Linked DNA regions of Homo sapiens: all the other regions are linked to region 2. Evidence: promoter capture Hi-C in 16 types of primary human blood cells and fetal thymus (Javierre and others, 2016). All regions are on one chromosome and are shown on one strand. The core of a region is centred on a gene start or on the middle of the fragment in contact, and the rest is flanking DNA. Distances in the headings are between cores, read along the strand shown. Region 1 has its middle 28 kb from the start of LINC01117. Region 2 holds the start of HOXD4 (homeobox D4). Region 3 overlaps LOC105373760 (a long non-coding RNA gene).

What was found. The method cuts DNA at HindIII sites, captures the fragments that hold promoters and counts their contacts. A CHiCAGO score of 5 or more calls a contact.
Region 1: a fragment that was not itself captured here is called in contact with the fragment with the promoter of HOXD4 in region 2 in 1 of 17 cell types (fetal thymus); the score reaches 5.0 in fetal thymus.
Region 3: a fragment that was not itself captured here is called in contact with the fragment with the promoter of HOXD4 in region 2 in 6 of 17 cell types (naive CD8 T cells, naive CD4 T cells, non-activated CD4 T cells and 3 more); the score reaches 8.7 in naive CD8 T cells.

The regions. Positions count from the first base shown.
Region 1 is chr2:176,663,699-176,668,423 of GRCh38, reverse strand. It overlaps the pseudogene RNU6ATAC14P. Among named protein-coding and RNA genes, the nearest start is that of LINC01117, 28 kb to the right of the region's middle. The HindIII fragment of the contact is 2,560 bases long and covers 908-3,467 here.
Region 2 is chr2:176,148,732-176,153,565 of GRCh38, reverse strand. HOXD4 (homeobox D4) reads right to left here and starts at 2,016. Exons shown (of 2, transcript NM_014621.3): 1 at 1,500-2,016; 2 at 340-958. The coding sequence starts at 1,932. The coding sequence ends at 624. It overlaps MIR10B (microRNA 10b), which reads right to left and starts at 3,263; the gene lies at 3,154-3,263. It also overlaps a transcript of HOXD3 not described here. RefSeq lists enhancers at 1,564-2,297, 4,826-4,834. The HindIII fragment of the contact is 3,668 bases long and covers 1-2,743 here.
Region 3 is chr2:177,139,513-177,143,992 of GRCh38, reverse strand. The region is part of intron 1 of LOC105373760 (a long non-coding RNA gene); the gene reads left to right. Among named protein-coding and RNA genes, the nearest start is that of MIR4444-1, 71 kb to the left of the region's middle. The HindIII fragment of the contact is 2,510 bases long and covers 827-3,336 here.

The DNA.
Region 1 (4,725 bases), core at 938-3,437, 510 kb before region 2:
TAGATCAATCTCCTCAGTGCATACTGAACATCTTCCATCATAGACCACTGCCTTAGCATATGCGGGAAGTGGGCCAAAATGTTCAATTCCAGTCTTTAATTTGAAAGGGTCTGACACTTTGGTTCAGGAGATAGGACACATACATAAAATTGCAATACAGAGTAATCAATGCTAAATTCCAAATGTCCAGCACAGATACAGCACAGAATTCAAAGGAAGAAAAGCTTCTCCAAGGTTTAGGGCAGAAGGAATCATTTTCAAGGAACAGGTGGAGCTTTAGCTTAATTCTCTCTGAAGGTAAAAAGCTAAATTGGATAACTTCTCAGGATCCTTGCAAATCTAAAATTATCCTGTAACAACAATTAATGTTATTAATTGTTATTAATGTTAATGTTATTAGTGTAACATTAATTAATGTTAATAGTTAATATAGGCTCCACCTCTAATAGGTATAGTAATATTACTAGTACCATAAAAATTAGTTCAATTTATATAGGACTTATTTTTCTAGTAAAGGTATTTCATAATTAATTACAAATTACCTTTGAATAATTATACCATACAAGCTAACTACCTATCTTATATGTGACTTAACAACTAATTCAGGTTTAAATAATTGCTTCAAAATAAATTGAAGATGATTGTTGAAAATTATGACTTCCCAACTACAAGGATTTATTTCTTGACCTTCCAGTAGCTATCTCCGAGTACTTCTAGGGTGGAACACAGGTGAATTAAACCAGTTGTTTGGCAGCTATAAAGAATTCCTCTCTTTGCATGCCACTGACCTTTTCATTGGTAAACTGGTGGACAGGGTTAAGAGTAGACTTAACAATTCTGCCATCATCAAGCAGTTTTATCATGTTTGGCAACTTTACTCAAATCTGAAAGAACACAAAAGAAAGCTTCCCCATAGCAAGTGGTAGAAGGTTACCTGTGACATATCCCTCCTTTTAGTGACCCCACCAAAGATTACAGTACCCAGGAGAGAAGAGGACTCTCAGCTGCTACACTCAGGGGGACATTTAAAGTACATCCAATTCTGAATTAGAAACATGGGCAAAGGCCTAATTTCACAAAATTGGGCCATCCTGTGCTTGCAGCTCTGCTAATGCTTGAAAGGGAAAGATTTTTTAAAAATTAAAAAGAAAGCAGAAAATGGGAAAGCACTTATTTAAAATTAATGTCACTTCTCATTTTTAATTATTCTTTCCTGAACTCTGCCTCACCCTTAACCCTTTGCTTGTTGTATACACTTAAACCTGGAGACAAACATAAAATTAGTTTGCATATAGACACTAATTAACATACACTGCTTGACGATAACAAACCCATCTTTTCATCTATTTTTAAATTCTTATTGTGAATCCTTAAAATATATCCCATTTTAAAGCATCACTGATTCAATTTTAAAACATTGCCAGAACTTGCTTTGCTAATCTGCAAACTCGATAATTCTCCCCCAAACCTCAGCACACTCAGCAACAATTTAATAGCAAATATCTCTAGTGGGACTTCATATTACTAAGATTCTATTACTTTTTATATTACCAAAAAAGTGCTAGTACACTCTAAAGTATTATAAATAGTTCAGACCAGGCAATGCTTGTCAAAATATATGAAAGTTTATTTTTTTGCACTCAGAAACTTGGGATTTTTATCTTGTGTATTTATAAGCTATAATGTGCCCCTCCATAATTAGTACAAAATGTAGATTACTAATCAACTTTCTAAAGTTTCTAGACATTTTATTTCGTTAACGTGATTACTAAGGTTGGTATGTTGTACGCTTAATAACCCGATCTTGCTACTAAATGCAAATTATAAACATATCTTAAAATAATTGCATATATGCCTAAAATGGGCTTCTTTAATTATATTCTTCTTAGTCTGCTAAGCAGCCTTTTTTCGATTGAGGGAATTTGTGTTTATGCTTCCTGAAGATTTTTAGTTTGGGGTTTAAGAGACGGATATAATCTACACACTTATTTAATAGTTTCAATACGTTTAAAAATGACCTTTAAGAAGTATATATCCCCCTTAACTACCAAATGCTTTGTATCTTGTCAGAAGTCGCTGTAAAACTGTTCAACTTTTGAAACGTTCAAGTTCTTCCATCATTAGTACAAGTCCAACTAGAAGTATACAGAAGTAGGTCAATCTATAAATACAGAGATATTTCCATAAAGAAGAGATTTTATAATGCTCGATCAAGGTATGTCTTCAGCAATTTCATGCTAGCTCCATTTTTAAACAGATTATTACTCATTCTGCGTGAGGCCACTGTGCTTCTTATTTATTTGCAATAAATACTATTCACTATACAAACCAATCTTTAATAAACTACTCACATTCTTTATTACAGGTGAATTGCAAAATGCCACCTTAATTATAAAGCAAATCCACTGTTGATATTTGCACCAAGTGTGTATGGACAAACCAGCAACACAGACATATTAATAACCTCCAACTTGTATTCCCATGCCCCATGAAATTTCTCTAAGGGTTACGAAGTGATGCCCTTTTGGCCCAATTTTCTGCCCCTCCTCTACCCTTCACTGTTTCTCTAGTACATTCTATCCCTTTAAATTCCCTCTCCATGCTAATACAATCTACTCTTTTTTTTTTTTTTTTTTTTTTTGAGACGGAGTCTCGCTCTGTCACCCAGGCTGGAGTGCAGTGGCGTGATCTCGGCTCACTGCAAGCTCCGCCTCCCGGGTTCATGCCATTCTCCTGCCTCAGCCTCCCAAGTAGCTGGGACTACAGGTGCCTGCCACCATGCCCGGCTAATTTTTTGTATTTTTAGTAGAGACGGAGTTTTCACCATGTTAGCCAAGATGGTCTCAATCTCCTGACCTCGTGATCCACCTACCTCAGCCTCCCAAAGTGCTAGGATTACAGGTGTGAGCCACTGCACCTGGCCCAATCTACTCTCCTTTTAAAAAATTTACAGTGAGGTATAACTGTCACAGGAACAAAAATACTCCAGCTTCTTCTCTCCCTGTAGATGGATCTAGCTGGCAAGCCAAATCATAAGGAAGAGGCTCTTTAACAAATTTGATCAAACAAAGGCGGGTACCTGGAAATAGACTCAAAGTGGATCCTGTGCATTGAGAGATGGTCTTGCTCATTGCAATGGAATTTTCCACCTCCCAGTGAAGGAAGCATAACACTGCTCTGGGTTCCCCTTGGCAAAAATGTAGTCCTGCTCCCTTACTATTTCCATGGTATGATCTGAACCATGTCCCAGAGTGAGACTGATTCCATGGCAAAGCTAGAAGGGCAGGCTTAGTCTCTGATACACTAATCAGGTGCCTTCAAGTGAAAAAAGTCAACACACTTTTTCTGGCTTGAAGGGCAGAACTCGCCCTATCCATCCATTCCTCATTCAAACAATTTCTGACAAATTCAGCACCTACTACTATTCCAAAACACATTTGTGCCACAGGTGTGGTCGTCAATAAGCTTAATGCCCAGCTGCTTAGAATCACAGAAAATTCCAAGCTCCTTTTATAGACACAGAAAACAAGACCCAGAGAGGTTATATGATTTTCCAGAATTAGACAGCTGGCTAGAATACTCCGGCTTTTCTTTATATCCTTTTTTTATTTTTATTTTTTTCACAAGACAGCATTTAGTACAATCTTTACTGGTTTTACAGCTATTTTTTTTATTTTATTTGTCAGGCCTGAGGGACTCTTCCATCCTTGTCAAACGGGGTGCTAACCTCTCTAGCTATTAAGTAAACTAGACCACAAGTGACTACTGCAACCAAGCACGCAGGGGCAGGGTGTGGAGCACTGCATTCAACTTTAGTTTTCAGAGGTCCTCGGTAGGGTGCTTTTATGTTCTTGTTAATGAATATAAATAAAACTTAAAGTTAGTCTCCTCAGAGTGAGGGTCTCTAAAAGCACAATTCAGGCTCCAAAAACAAGGAAAACTCATGGAGATATAGACCATTACTTGTGGAAAGTAGTAAAAAGGACACAGAATAATGTCTCTGAGCTTCTTGAATTTACATCTCTGCTTCTACCTTTGTCTGTGAGAGAGATATATAGACAGACAGATCGATATATATATCATATTAAATATGCATATATTGCATATAATATATGAATTATATATATATATCTGTTTTCTATATACAGTGTAAAGAATATCTTTAATGTTTTCAAGCTTCTATAACTGGAGCTAATGTAAAATTGTGAAAATAACTAGATCGAGTGGATTGGCTGTGTCACAGACAGATACAGATTTGAGATACGACTAGAGGATAATATTTTGCTGTCCTGGTCCTCAGTGTCCACCCCTCCCAACCCCCTGCTAAGGAGAGAGCATATCAAATCATTTCTTCACACAAGTAACATCAGGAGTGGTGGGAGGAGGTCATGCAGCTCCTAGAACAAAAGATTAGAATCAACTGTTGATGACAGAGGATATTTGGGAACTTAAAGTCCTGTGAATTATATTATGTGTAAAAATTCTATATGAGTGAGCCAGGCTGTCACAAACCCTGGTTGACAATATAACTGGACAACAAGCCATTCACCCCTAGGAGCCTCTTCTCCACCCTGGAAGCAACCCTCATCCTCCTGACGGCTCCCTACCCTCTAAAGCTCACATGTGTCTGCCTCTTCATGTTCCTTCCAGTCAGAAAGCTGCTCAGGAGGTAAGTATAGATGTTCTGTTCTACCTTTTTCAGTGGCAGAAAAAATAATGAAGACA
Region 2 (4,834 bases), core at 767-3,266:
CCAACAAATAAATATTTAAGCAAATATCTAAACATAAAATAACCCATTTTTACTTCCTTCTTAGACCCATTTCTTTGGAGGTGGGGCCACTGGGAGCAAAATATATATTTTTTAATCACATGAAATTCCATAGACAACCCAGAAAGTCCAGAAATCCTGACCCAGCTCTCTGGCTTCCACTGAAAGCACCTAGCACAGGGGTGGCCAACCTTCTGCCTCAACTCCCCCACATTATTAAGCCACAAAGCACCCTGGAGGGGTGGAGTGGGGGAGAATGTCCAAATTCACAGTGGGATAAAGCATCCAACCTTCATTTGCAAATTCAAAATCCAAGAGCGGTGATTTTCATAAGTTTAATGACTCGCCAAGATTTTATGTTCTCAGTAGCTCCTGCCATATAATATACTTAGAGAGAGAATCCCGCCCCCCCTCCCATCCCCATCCCGCTCTAGGGAGGGGGCTGCCCTCGGGCAGGATGCTAACCTAGTCCGAGGGCGGCCTGCTTGTCCCAGGTCCACCCCACAGTACCTTAGAGCCCAGCGAGGTGACAGCAGGCCCGGCCTGCCCCCGCAGCTTCGGCTCAGCCTGGTGCGCAGGGAGAGATGGGCCCAGGGTCCCCACTTCTATAAGGTCGTCAGGTCCGTGTGGTGGTCTTTGGCCATCGGCTGTAAATGCTGGCTGGGGGCGACTGAGGAGGAGCAAGATGAGGAGGAAGATGAGGACGATGACCTGCCTTTAGTGTTGGGCAGCTTATGATCTTTTTTCCACTTCATCCTCCGGTTCTGGAACCAGATCTTGATCTGGCGCTCCGACAGACACAGGGTGTGAGCGATTTCAATCCGACGGCGCCTTGTCAGATACCTGTTAAAATGAAATTCTTTTTCCAGTTCTAGGACTTGCTGCCGGGTGTAGGCCGTTCGGGACCGCTTGGGTTCCCCACCGGTGTAGTTGGGGTTCACTGCGAGACAAAACAGACAGGACAGGCAGGTCAGCGCCCGGCCACTAGTTAGGCCCCTCGCCTCCGCCGCTCACTTCCTGGCGCGCCCCGAGGCCCGCGGCCCTCCCCGCGCGCTCCCAAGCTCGCTTGCTTCCTCCCTCCCGCCCTCTCCCCGGCGCACACGCTCACTCCCACCCACCTCCTCAAACACACCCACATACCCCAGGCTTGCGGGATCCCCAAATGTGCTCCTTCTTCTGGGCCCACCACCAGGTCCGGAACCCTCAAGCATTTTGGAAATCCCCCGCTCCTCCACAGCCTTCCCCCTGCTCTGAAAATGGAGTCCTCCCCCACCCCCCCATCCCCACCCCCTTTTGCGCCCACAGCCGAGCAGCCAGCCACATGGTCCTGACCTGCTCCCTCAGCTATAAAAATTTATGGGGAGAGTAATTGCGGCGCCCATGGAAGCTCCACACGCCCCCACCTACTCGCACCCCCTTCCAGAGGACCCAGGCTAACGGGCTGGGATGTGGACAGAAAGGTTACTGGACCCTAGCCTTACCCGAATTCACGTGCACCTTCTTCATCCAGGGGTAGACCACGGCCGGCTGCTTGAGTGCCGTCCCGGAGGGCGGCTGCTTGGGGTCGGACTGACTGTAGGCCCGGGCGCCAGGCAGGGGCGCCGGCGGAGGCGCCGGGGGAGCTGGGCAAGGCTCTCCTGGAGCGGCGTAGTGACCGCCGGGGCCGCCTGGCTCTTGTCCGTGACCCCGCGCAGGCAGCGCCGAGCCAGGCCCGGGGCCGCTGCCTCCGAAAGGCTGCTCACCGAAGTCGGGCCGTGGGTAGAGCCCCGGGGGCTGGAAGTCTGCGCCCTGCGCGCCGCCGCCGTAGTAGTCGGCGCCCTGCTCGCCTAGGTAGCCGCCCTGCAAATACTCCTCGCACGGAGGGAACTTGGGGTCCACATACTTGGAGTTCACCATATACGAACTCATGACCATTAATTTCAGAAGGTAGAAAATACTAATTTTTCTCGTGTTGTCTTTTTTTCTCCTTCCATAGGGCCCTCCTACTTGCTGTCAACTGAATAAAGTTGGGCAGCCATGTGACCAGGCCAGCCAATGGCGAGGGAGCAAGTTTATCACCGGGTTGGTGAGCATCTCATAATTTTCACAAATTTAACTAAATAACATACGTGTAATCAAGTAGCTTGCTATGGCACATTTGAGAGCCCCTGCCAGATATTAATGTAGTTCCAGTCCCCAGCACCCCATTCCCCTCAGGTAATCCCAGCTTTTGTCTGCCACTGATTTTGCCAACCTTCCGTGGCCCTTCCACTCACCCCCAGCTGAATGCAACCCCCGCCCCCCGACACCAAGTAGGCACAGCTCAAGGGAGAATGAATCCTCCTATTGGGGTACAGAGCAATGAAAGGTGGGTGGGTGAACTCGCCTCTGAGTTGGGCAGAGTGCCCCAGGCGAGGAGGGTTCCTGCCTGCCCGCCCTGCCTGCAGCCGGCGGGAGCAGGGATTCTGCCATACAAAGGCCGCCGTCCTGGCTTTGTCTTCATCAGGGTCACCCAAAAGTTACCAGAATCTGGCCAGCTTGAATCAAATTAGGCAATGAGTAACCGCCATGCTTTCTACCAGTGCCCAGGCCCGGGGGTTCCCAGCCAAAGCTGGGCCCTGCCAAAATAGCAGGGGGCCCTCGCTGCCCTTGCCCATGTAGCTGGGGGTGGGCTGGGATGGTGGCAAGGGCACCTCCACCTTGTCAAAATGCACCCTAGAGCTCCCCACTGGGCTTCTTTGAAGCTTGCTTTCTTCCCACAGGCCCCAAATACAAGCAAGCCCCCATTTGGGTACCTTTGCACCTCATGTTCCTGGAGGGCAGAGCTGGGACTGGGCAAGCTGGCCTTGTACCTCACTCCCTAGTACCCCAAAACCTAGCCCTTTGGCCCTGCATCCATGCAACCAATTAGGCTTGCATTCTCTCTTTCTCTCTCTCTCTCTCTTTCTCTCTTTCTGTCTTTCTTTCTTTTCAGCACCCAGAGGATACTCTGTTTAAAGGTGAGGAGCTTCTGGAGAGGAAAAGCTGCTCTATGTCACCAGGCGCAGCTGATCCTCCTGGAGTCCAAGGTAATAAAACAGAACGAGGCGGCTGACCAGCGCCGGCTGCTTCTAGTCTCCATGTCGCACTTTGGTCTCTGGCTATTCCGAAGAAACGTGAAGTTTTTGCATCGACCATATATTCCCCTAGAATCGAATCTGTGACTATACGGATACCACACAAATTCGGTTCTACAGGGTATATATAGACAACGTTACAACCTCTGGGTCCCACCCAGAGTGAGGTACCTAGGTCGCTGCCGGCCCCAATCTCTTCCTCTGAGCCACCACCGTTCGACGCAGCCACCCGCACTTTCTGAGACAGTTCAGGTAGCCTAATGGGCTTGGCGACAATTTGAAGCAATGAGTTCCCTCATTCTTCTGCCAGGGTCAGGGTTACCAAGCAGGCGAACAACCAGAATATTCTTCTTAAGAAAGAAAAAAAGAAAGAAAGAAAGAAAAATAATCCATCCCAAGGATGGCGGCTTTATTAACCACCCTCCCCCACCAGGATCCAAATAACCCTCCTCCTTACCAAGTGGTATTTTCCAGAAAGGAACAAATGCCCTCAGCGGCAGAAGAAAAAGAAGCGAGAGGGGAATATCCTGTGTCTACTCCTTTTCCTACTGCCCGACCAAGCCAGGTTGTCTGCCAAAGCTACTTCTCCAAGAAGTCGCGCATTTACCTTCATGGGCCCTGATCCGGGCTGGCCTCTCCGTTCCGCTGCTGCTGCAGACCCCGAGGCAGGCGCTGCTCACAGGCACCGAGCCGCCTTGGGCTGAGGCCGGCGCGCTAATGGTGAAGGGCAGGGCGAGGGGTCATTCGAAATCATTTACAAACATATCACAAACTTTCATTATTTTTGCTTTGCCGACAGCAGCACACAAGAGTACAAAAGTTCACAAATTTCACCCGCCCCAGCGCCTCGGCACTGTGCAGTGCTTGTCCCTCAGTTCAGGGCATGGAGAGCGCAGACTCACTCAGAGCCTCGATGGATTTCAGGGGCACAGGGATGCCCTGGCTCGAGTGGGGCTTTTGGGTGCCTAACTGTAGGCTGAAGGTGTTAGATTTTTTTTTAACTGTCTTGATTGCCCTTCCTACCTCCCACATAATTCAAAATTTAGTTTCAAGCCTGGGCCTGGGCCTGGTGGGGTGGGGCAGGGATACTCCCCCTCCAAGCCTGGCACTTTGCTCATCCCCCCATCCTTTGCTTCCACCACTTTACCTGTTTCGTAGGGATTTTGGGGGCGCCAGTTCTAACAAGGGCTATGAGGCTGCAGAATCTGTTTATCCCAGGAGAGTCCCCCCAATTTCCCTGAATGCCAAAGACTCCCAAGTATCCACCTTCCTGGGACACTGGGCCTAGGCTCTATCCAGACAAATTGGGGGAGCCTGCTGAGCCGGCTGGAGACCGGGGTGAATATACACATTTTCATATTTGTTAGACGCTGTGACCTGCATTTCACCTTATTGCTCGACTTGTTCAGACAGGTCAAAGCCAACGAGTTATTGATGAACAAAAGCGTTAAATATTCACCTCCCGCTCAACTGCCCATACTAATGCTTTTGATCTCTAGGGCTTTTTGTGCTGTGTTCAGCTACAGGGCGCTGAATGTGGGTTTGCTAGCGAGAAGCTTCTGCAGAGATAAGCACCCAGAGCCAGTGCAGGGGAGGAGAGAAGCAAGACCAGAGGTCCCCAGGACACCAGATTTTCCAGACTGGAGCCCAGAGCCCCTTTCACTTGAGCCAGCCTGGTGTATAGGGGTAGTTGCTCTTCTAGGGGTGTGCACAGTCTACAA
Region 3 (4,480 bases), core at 832-3,331, 990 kb before region 2:
TGCTTAGAGCTTAGAGGGGAACATTTTACAATTTTTTTAAAAAAATCTACATCTTCCTTCTGCAGATATCAATACAATCAATTGACAGTAAATGAAAAAGCCGAAAAAAAAGAATGCCCCCTCTCCAGTCTTCCTTTTTTTTTTTTTTAATTTCAGTTGGAAAATCCCCACTGAATGAATTTTTTTGAAAAAGTAAATGTATCCTGGGAACATGCCGTTCAGGATTTTGGAAAAGGAACTTCAAACGAAATTGGTAAGGGAGGCAAATGCGTAAGTGGAAACTTTGAGGAAACTGGCAATGAGAGACTGGAAATCAGGCAGTCATTTACGTTTTACTTCACCACCCTTTGCTTATGTGAGTACAAAGCAGGGAGCTGGCAAGGCTGTGAGTCAGAACTCTCCTCTCAGGAACTGAGCAGAGAGATTCCCAGCATCTGTTTCCTCAACTATCACCCAGAGGATACTGGTGGTAAATCACAGGGAATAAAAATAGCCTCAGAAGTCTAGTTCCAGACAAATAAGGCATGCTGGATATTCGATAGTGGTTTGGGGTCTCAAAATTCTTCATTAGCTAAATAACAAATATATTATTTTTTACATTAATGAGCATATTCCTTACATTGTTCACCTAAATGTTGAGCACAACCTTGGCATTTCTACTGACGTGAGTTGAAGTATTACCTAAATTACATTATGTTTGATGTTACAGTCTGAACCATTTAGTGTATAAAGGTGGGTCTACAATCAATAATCACAAATGTTAAAGCTTTATTTTAGATACAATAAAACATTTATTTCTAAGATGTTAAAAAAAAACCCATAAGCTTCTTACCATAATGTCAATTGCCAATAGATTGATAAGATCTTTCTGCATTTTGACTGCAGGAAATTTTATGGCTAGAATCTTACAATTTACACAACTTACAGTCTTTTTAGGTTATATTTCACATATAAGAAAGTATTTTTTAGGTCTGCCTAGAAATGTTGTAATTTGATATTAAGTTATAGCTTAGATTTTCAACAAAAACAGCAGCTGTAATAGATGAGATTAGCAAGTGGTGAAAAGTTCAAAGCATTTAATGGAATTGATCTACTAAATTAGCATTGACAATTTTTAGTGGCTATCTTAAATATACATTATTATCATGAAAGAATTAGTCCAATTAAGCCTTTACATTTGGAAGATGCCCAGTCTGACCTTGTTCTACTCAATGTGAAAAGTGAGAGGGTCTTTGGGTTTATTTAAATTTGGTGTTAAATCAATTGGTTTGGGGGACCTTTTACTCCTTTTTGGAATGGAAGAAAAACTCAAAGGCTATTTATAGTGACAAATGGGTTATTAGAACAGTTAATATATTATATTATAATTTATAATTATAAATTATAATTAATATAATATATAACAGTTTTTATATTGCAAATAAAAAATGATGACCAGGAGTTGCTCTGAACCTATTCTGGTTTAGGGAGCTGCCCAGCTAAAAAAAAAAGAAAAAATAATGATTGAAGAATAGAACAAAATAATATTTGATACATAGGTGAGAATCAATTAGAGTGGGATTCTTTTCTCACAATTTCTTACTAAAGCCATATTTACTGGGTATACTGGATGTATTTTGGAACTGAAATAATTATATTGTATTTAATATCAGGTTTTATTTAGAACACTCTCAATTAAGAAATAACCAGCTAATAAAAAAATAGAAATCTATGCAAATATACATGAAGAAATAAGTATGGGATTTTCCAGAAATCTAATTTCTATACATCAATAGTATATTTTATATTCTGTTGATACAGACTTCTATGATAACTTGAACATAAATATCATGAAAATAAAATTGAGTTTTGAATTGTCAGTTTAATTGTGCAAACTCTCTGATGATGGCTGGTTACTCATTTATCATGAAATTGTGGAGTCTTGGCTCTTACGTAAGGGGCTTGGTTGAAAGGCCAGCTTCTTAATTCACAGCGGCTTATACGTGAGTCTTCATTGGAGCTCAGGAGCTAGCTCTTTTGTGAAAGCATTTAGTAAAATATATTTTAGTTGAGGTTTTTTTTTTTTTTCTGTTGTTATCCATTCCAATATTTAATGGTCCATTTCCCTAATCTGGGCTTCTAACCCAGACACTTTTGGACATTTTTAATAGAAAAAGATGTCTTTTGCGTAAGATTTCTTCAAAAAGAAAATTGTAACTAATTTACCCCCCAGCTTTCTCTTCTATAAACGGAAAAATCCAATTCTCATTTATCAACTCCCCACCTTTTTAAGTTCTCCTCTGAATGCTCAGCAAATTATTCATATCCATCTTTAAATATAGCACTCTGAGGGGAGTTTAGTGCTTTATTAAGGTATCTGAGGAAGATGGGAGATGATCTCATTTATTCCTGAGGATGTATTGAAAAATCCTCTCTCTGCCAGACTCTGCTAGGTGCTGGGAATACAGTAAGATTTAACAAAAACCTTGAGGGAGAGAAAGATTTGCCAACAAGTAATGGCAATACAACATGTTAAGTGCTAACATGGGTGTAGACAACATGCATTTGTCTGTCAGTCCTAATTCGGTATTCATTGTCAAAACAGTATTTTAAACTGCTACAGCAATGCCTACTGACAGTCATATTTCTATGCAAACAATTTCTAATTAGCTCCTGTAATTCAGGTGTGTACTTTGAACACATTTTTCCATACTACGTTTAATCTACATTTTGTTTCTTATTTGTACAATTTTATCTTAAATTGTTATTTTACCTTCTAAATTTCATTTTTTGGCCTCTTCTGTCTGTTATTCGGGTTGATATCAAAAACACCATTTGTCGTCTCCTCAATTTGAATGCTTTAGTTAGAACTCCCCAGCCAATCTATAGTTAATGAATCAACAGTTGTCTGTTCCTGGTCTATTTTCCTAGCATGCCTTGTAGGAGAGAATCAAAAGCCTTCCTAAAGTCCAGCTTAGGGTTCATCAGTTAATTTTCTGTGATCCATCAGGCCTTCCACTCTGCTATGTAATAGGATGACTGTCTATTATCTACATAGGACAAGTTCTTTGTGAAGCTATATTGATTATTAATGATTGTGTAATTAGGTACGCTCTCAAGAGTTCTGGTTATTTTGGTCCTTTTTTGAATCTCTAGGCATCTACTCAGTTCTCTGAATATTACACAAAGGTAGGGACAATAATTTTGTACCACTCATTCAGTGTTGTCAAATGGAAACAAATCAGAGCTGGGGCTATCAGAAAAGAAGTGGGCAAGTCATGCATCCTGGTCATCGTCTATCACATGTCAGCATTAGCTTCTGCATAGTGCAGCACTGATCATGGCATGATGCAAGCTTTATTTGGTCACCATGGACAAGTATTCCCCTTTTATTGATTTGTAATACACCATTAAGCTTCATTGTAATAAAATTGGACATGATAGATAGCAAAATGATAAAAACCACCTGTAATTCCCCTAACTAGAGACTAGCATTGTTAGCAGTTTGGTTTACACATGCACGTTGGTGTATGTGGATGTGTGTGTGTAAAATGTGTATAATAAACATACATACTGTTTTGCATCAACCCACCTTTTTCACTCAGTACTACATAGAGTTCATTTTTCTAAGATAATGCACATCATATAACCATAGAAATTCAACTTTTCAGTATTGAATCACAACTGTGTTCTTTTTGTTGTTCAATAATACTTCTCTAACTCCATGAGTAAAAAGAAACCTCTCCTTCACTCATACCTCTCTTATAGCATTATCTCTTTTTAAATTTAGGTAGATTCCTTATTATCTTAGTAATTGCAGTCTCTGAGAGTAGGATCTATACATGATTTATCCTTATGTTTCTTACATTTTAGCTGCATAATAAATATTTATTGAATAAATGAATACATGAATTTTAGTAACGGGAACTGAAATCTTGGAACTTCATGTTTTGCTTTTAGTTCTGTCTCTGATTTCACTTTGTACCTCAGTTTACCCAGGTACAGAAAGGATATAAAGCAATTTGTCACTTACCTGAAATCACCAAGCTATGAAATATACCACGAAGCTAATGTGCCACACAGCTGGAAATAGTTCTTTAATATTAATCATTTTGAATGAAATTTTTCAGATGCACTACATACTTTATTACTATTTTTTAGCAAATGAAAGATATTAATGTAAAACAATTGGAAAATACAAACAAAAAAATTCTACTAGTAATTCTACTACCTAGAAATGAACATTATTATTTTGATGTCTGTACTTCCAACCTTTCTTTTCTATGTATACCCATGTATGTGAAATATAATTTTCACTATAGATTTTTATCAAATTGTGATCCTAAATACTATCATTACTTTTTCTCATTAATATAAACATCTTTACATGACAATAAATTATCCCTAATAATCAATGTTGATGATTATATAGTATTTCATTATGGGAGTATGCCATAATTTACTTAATCGCTCCTCCCCTTATTGAGTATTTAAGTTATTA